Regions from separate parts of the Homo sapiens genome. Here region 1 is linked to region 2. The links are contacts of gene promoters, found by promoter capture Hi-C in blood cells and fetal thymus (Javierre and others, 2016). All regions are on one chromosome and are shown on one strand. Each heading gives the region's core, a stretch centred on a gene start or on the middle of the fragment in contact. The rest is flanking DNA. Distances are from core to core; before and after follow the strand shown.

Region 1 (2,886 bases), core at 367-2,866, 230 kb after region 2:
AGCAGCTTTTGTGAGCCTGCATCCTGCCAAGAACTCATCTAGGTGCTAATTGATGAGGAGGACTACCTGCAGCAGGAGAGTAGTGACGGTGGGACTGGAAGCCAGCTCACAGCTCAGTGCCACTGCATGCAATCATCTCCTAAACATGTGTCTGCACACAGATTTATTCCTCCTGGACTTTTCCCTTGAACTCTGAACTGGTTTAGCCAATGGCCCACTTGACATCTTCACTTACATGTCTCATAGTGTCTCATCCATAACACACCCAAAGTGGACTGCCGATTCCACCTCTGCTCCCATCCCCAACCAGCATGTTCTTCTGTAGTCTTCACCATCTCAGTAAACAACTCAGCAACTAAACAACTCATCCTTCTGTACTCAGGCTCAAAACCAAAAGTCATTCCTGACACTGCTCTCTCATACCCTACCAGCATTCTATCAGAAAATCCAGCTGGCTGTATTTTCCAAATGTATCCCAAATCCAAACCCTGCTCCCCTACCTCTTCTGCTATCACCCTGATCCAGCCACTTTATTTGAGATTTTTGTGCTAGCCCCCAACTCTCTCTCTGCACCTGCCTTGCCTCTTATAATCTATGAGAAGCACAGTAGCCAGAGCAATCCCTTTATAAGTCAGACCATTTTACTCCTCTGCTCCAAGCCTTCTCTCCAGTGGCCTCCTCTCATGCAGAGGAAAATTCCAGTCTTCTATGAACTGCCAGAGCCTATTTGATGTGACCTCTGTTAGCTCTCTGACCTTAACTCCTGCTGTTCCCTCTTGGCTCACTGGTTTATCCCTTTAGAGTTTCTCAAATAGGCTGAGCACATCCCATATCAGGGTCCTGGTACTTGCTGTTTTTTCTTCTGGAATGTTCTTCCCAGACAACTCACTGCCTTACTCCCTTCAGGGTCTGCTTATCAGAAAGACCTTGCTTGACCACTTGGATTCAGAGGGAAGCCATATCCCCAGCCTTCTCTATCCCTACATCCTACACCCTACCCCAGCACTCAAACCTCCTGCCATATTATGTATTTGTCTGTTGTCTTTCTTCCCCAACTAGAATGTTTGAAACTGCTATATCTCTGGTGCCTAGAAATGTTTCTAGTTCTGCTAGACAAATTGCACACAGCAGGCACACAATAGACATTCACTAGGATGAATGAATGAAATTATGAAGAACTGACTATGTGCTGGGCCCTAACCTGGAAGTCTTCAATGAAATAATTCACCCTCACAACTATTACCCTATGAGGTGGGGATTATTATTACTATTTTTCAGAGAGAAACCAGAATTAAAACCCAGTTCTATCTGCCTCCAAATATCCTCTTCCCATGACGTCACTCTGGGAAAAGCCAGGCTTTCCTCTGAGAGCCTTCCATCTACCATCAACGGTATGCTGGGTACTGAAATGTACACAAACCCAGCTAGAATAAAGGCTACTATGTGCAAAGGGCTTTCCAATTCTACCCACATTCTTTTTTTTCTGTAGTCATTTATTGATTTATTTATAATTTTAAAATTTCAATAGCCTTAGGGGTTAGCCTAAGTGAAGTAACTCATGCTCTTACTTTACGTTATCTCAACTGTATGGCTGTGAGGTAGGGAACCATGAACCAGTATTTAACACGATTTTTTTTCTGGGAAAGAAAGGCTTAGTGAGGTTTACCGGGTGTCTCTAGGTCAGCTAACTAGTCCTTTGGAAAGCCAAGTCTCCACTGCAGGTCTCTGACCCCAATTGCAGGGCAGGAGTGGGGAGGGTGGCGGGTGGCAGGCTCTACCCATTACCCTATCTGTGATAAACACTAGGTCAGGGATGCGCTATCACCACCTTACCCCCACCATACGCAAGCATCACCTAGAGAGATCCTCAGGATTCTACCCCACACAGAACTGCAAGAGGGCACAGTGGACAACCAAGTGGAAACTGAGTTATGAGCTATGCTCCCACCCTCCCAACAGTGAGGAAACTCCTCTGGACTTCAACCCAATGTGCCCTTGTATTGCCCTCCCTTGCCTCAGCCCACTCCCAACCTGAATTTAGAGTTGGGCTTGTGCATTTCTCTGTTTGCCCCAAGAAGGCTCCATGGCACCTGGGTCCAACCACCATCAGCCAAGGAGGACCTGAAGATGGCAGGTTCTGGAGGGCCTCAATCTCAGCCATGCCTTTTACTCCATCCTCTGTCCTTTGATACCCACCCAGCCCCTCCTGCCCCATCTGGGGCTGAGAAACAGGACATATCAATTGCAGTAAATTGCCACATCCACCTAAACAGGGTGTCCAGCATGTTTTTGTAACACCAACACCTGTTTGTTTAGTCATGCTGGGCCAGGTGTTTCAGCATAAAATACAAATTGAATTCCTCCCCTCAGAAGGGCTTGCAGTCAGATGATAACAGACAAGGCAAACAACTGAAACACCATTGATACATACTATATGGAGAGATGGACATCTATTCCAAGACCTCAGGAGGTGGAGATCAGGTGCCATTGGGCCCCATAGCAGCACTGTCAGCTGGAGTGACACAATGGCCAGGAACTGACCAGGACCCCGCTCCCTTGGTCATGTGTCAACACAGCAGGGAGAGTGTCCTGGGTGTCCTTGGATTGCAATCACGAGCATCCAAGTTACCCAGAGTCTGAGCCTCAGTTTCCCTATCTGTGAAGTTGGGAGATGATTAGTAAATATCCTCATAAAGATGTTCAAAAATTCAAATACACAACAATATCTGGAAAATAGTTTGGCTTCAATAAATGTTCGTTCTTTTCCCTTAATTTTTTAATTTTAATATTAAGATTAGTGTCCAAAGCTGTTATCCCTTCTTCAGATAATTATACACAGAAAGCAGGAATACAAAGAACGTCCAATCTCTGAACCACCTCAGCTGA
Region 2 (3,052 bases), core at 187-2,686:
ACTATGAGAAAATAAATTTCTGTTACTTAAGCCACCCAGTCTGTGATAGTTTGTGATGACACCCATAGCAGACTAGTACAGTAGCTAACACTGGATACTTATTATGTGTCAAATACTGTTTTAAGCACTTTGCATATTTTAACACATTTAATATTCATAGCAACCCTATTTGTGGAAGGTAGTACAGTCTACGGCACGGCAGCTATATCGGCCCCTTTATTTTCCCCAGGGTTTGGAGTCTCTTCCACTTTCCAGCTTGTCCTCCTGCCCTTCACTCTACCCGGGACCATATCCTCCAGATTCTCACAGGTCCCTCCATCTCTCCTCAGGTGCCAGGCTCAGCAACCTGCCCTCATTACCTGCCAGTTCCTGACCCTATCTGTCACTAGCTCCTTACCTGGCTGGATTGGTCTTCTGAATACTTGCCATTCCCTGGCATGATGCTTTTGCAAAATAAGAAAATCAATAATAATAATAATAACTGCTAGTGTCTAATAAGCATGTGCTCTTCAATGTCTATTCTCTTACAACTACCTTAACAAATAGGGACATATTATTATTCTCCTTTTAACTTTGCTTTCCAGAGAAGGAGGCTGGGGCTCAGGGAGATGAGGTGAGTTTTTCCAGGTCTCACAGGAACAGGACTGAAGGAAGGAAGCCATGTTTGCCAGGAGAAACCAAATGGACATACAGGCTTTCTGTGGAATACACAGTTCCTGCTATCTTTTGGTTGACAAAGTCTGAGGTCCTAGGAAAGAGAGGAAAGTAATAGAAATATGAATATGAGTGTGTGTGTATTTTGCTTCCCTCACCAAAGTTTTCACAGTCTATATTAATGAGGGCACGATTTTGCCTGTTTTGTTCTCTGCCATATCCTCATTGTCTAGATTAGGTGCCTGCTACTGTGGAGCTCTAAGAGGTTGTTAGAGAAAGAATAGAAGAAAGAAAAGAAGGAAGGAAGGAAAGAAGGAAGAAAGAAAAGAAAGAGGGAAGGAAGGAAAGAAAGAAGGAAGAATGAAAGGAAAGAAGGATAGAAGGGAGAAAGGAAGGAAAGAAGAAAGAAAGGAAGAAAGGAAAGAAGGAAGGAGGAAGGAGAAGGAGAAAGGGTAGGGTGGGGAAGGAAAGAACAAAGGATTGCTTTTCCCTCACTGTGGGCTTGAGCCTGTTCCCTCCAAAGATACAGAGCTTTGGTCTTTACCCATAAAAAAGGATTTTGAAGTCACCCCACCCCGTTCTGTTCCCCCACAGTTTAGACAAGATCCTCATGCTCCACTGGCCACACGAGTGCCCTCAGGAGGAGTAGACACAGGTGGAGGGAGCTCCTTTTGACCAGCAGAGAAAACAGGATGGGGCACTGCCTCACTGAGGACCTGGGGGTGGGAAGGAAAGTGCCAACGGCAGCTCTATAAAAGCTCCCTGGCCAGGGGACCTAGGGCAAGCAGTGGTTTCTCCTCCTTCCTCCCAGGAAGGGCCAGGAAAATGGCCCTGGTCCTGGAGATCTTCACCCTGCTGGCCTCCATCTGCTGGGTGTCGGCCAATATCTTCGGTAAGTTCTGAGGCCATGGAGCCAGGCGGTGGGGAGGGAGCTCCAGTGTCAGCCAGGCTCTGCCCTGGGCCTTCGAACAGGTGCGATCTAATTTAATCTTCACAAATTCCCACATGTCAGTGATTTGCTTTTTTTTTTTCAGATGAAGAGGCAGATTTAGAGAGCCGAACTGAATTACTTGAGGTCACAGAGCTAGTGATTGATGGAGCAGAAATGGGAAATGTGGTTGATCTTCCTAATTCAATTCTAGGTCCTCCTCACCCCACCATTTTGGCAAACTTTTGGCATTGACCTTGGGTTTTTATCCCCTTAGCTATTCCAAAGTCTGTGTCATCCATAACAGGTATTTTAGAAGCAGTAGAAAAAGAAATCTACCTATGAAGTGAAATAGCCCTAAGTTCTGTCTTTGGCTCAGCCACTTACCCATATGACTTCGGGCAAAGTGCCAAGCTTCTGTTTTTTTTTTTTTTTTTTCATTTAAAAAGTAAACAAATAACACACACCTCATGATGCGGTTGTGATTTCTGGGTAGGACCCTATGTGTTACAAGAGTTCTCAATGGAAAAATAAGTCATGTACATTATTAATTAATTGGTATTTCAATGTTTATCTGGAACATGTTACATCTGCAGGGCATGGCTTGATAGATTCAAGAAGAACTTCCTTACGGTTCTCTAACTTACTCCAAATAGCCTCATGGGAATTGCGGCAGGGTGGGGGCGGGCGGGGAACGTGTAGTCCCAGCGTTGATTTTGGGATCCTTCACTTGCCAGTTACGTGACTTTGGGCAGACGACTTTCGCTGCCTGAGACTTGGTGCCTCATGAGTGACAAGGATATATTGCCTGTCACCTCTTAGGAGAATGTTGCACATTAAATGAGCTAATGTCATACTTGTAAGAAAGTGTGCTTAGCTGCCAAATTTTAAAATAGGCTGTCATAGGTAATGATGATGACCCTGGAAAAGCATCTGTGCTTATGAGAGCCCGTCTCTGTCCTGGCAGCCCAGTCCACACTCTTCTTTGATGAACCACTTTTCTTTTCCTAGAGTACCAGGTGGATGCCCAGCCCCTTCGTCCCTGTGAGCTGCAGAGGGAAACGGCCTTTCTGAAGCAAGCAGACTACGTGCCCCAGTGTGCAGAGGATGGCAGCTTCCAGTAAGGCTTATGTCAGCAGCGAACTCTCAAGGTCCAAGATGCCATAAAAAGCATCTTGTGCCTTCCCCCCTCTTCCTGAGCTCTGCCCTGCAACTCCTTTGTGCATGTGAGGCTTGGCCACTGTCATTTGGAGGTGCCTGCCTTTCAGTTCCACTGTCATTTGGAGGTGCCTGCCTTTCAGTTCCCCAAGCTGTTCAACACTGGACAATCTGACCAAGTGAACCCCAATCCATGCTTCATCCTCCCACTGCCCTCCCTTCTCTTCTTGCCATCACTTTTTCTGTGATGGCTTGAATAAACGGCACGTGTGGGGAGTGGGGCAGGTTGAGGAGAGTGTCAAATGATCTGTG

Evidence for each region. The method cuts DNA at HindIII sites, captures the fragments that hold promoters and counts their contacts. A CHiCAGO score of 5 or more calls a contact.
Region 1: a fragment that was not itself captured here is called in contact with the fragment with the promoter of TG in region 2 in 2 of 17 cell types (M1 macrophages and M2 macrophages); the score reaches 5.6 in M1 macrophages.

Annotation. Positions count from the first base shown.
Region 1 is chr8:133,099,333-133,102,218 of GRCh38, forward strand. The region is part of intron 43 of TG (thyroglobulin); the gene reads left to right. All of the region lies in intron 1 of SLA (Src like adaptor), which reads right to left. Among named protein-coding and RNA genes, the nearest start is that of SLA, 1.8 kb to the right of the region's middle. The HindIII fragment of the contact is 3,803 bases long and covers 1-2,886 here.
Region 2 is chr8:132,865,522-132,868,573 of GRCh38, forward strand. It overlaps TG (thyroglobulin), which reads left to right and starts at 1,437. Exons shown (of 48, transcript NM_003235.5): 1 at 1,437-1,546; 2 at 2,594-2,702. The coding sequence starts at 1,480. The HindIII fragment of the contact is 3,355 bases long and covers 1-1,994 here.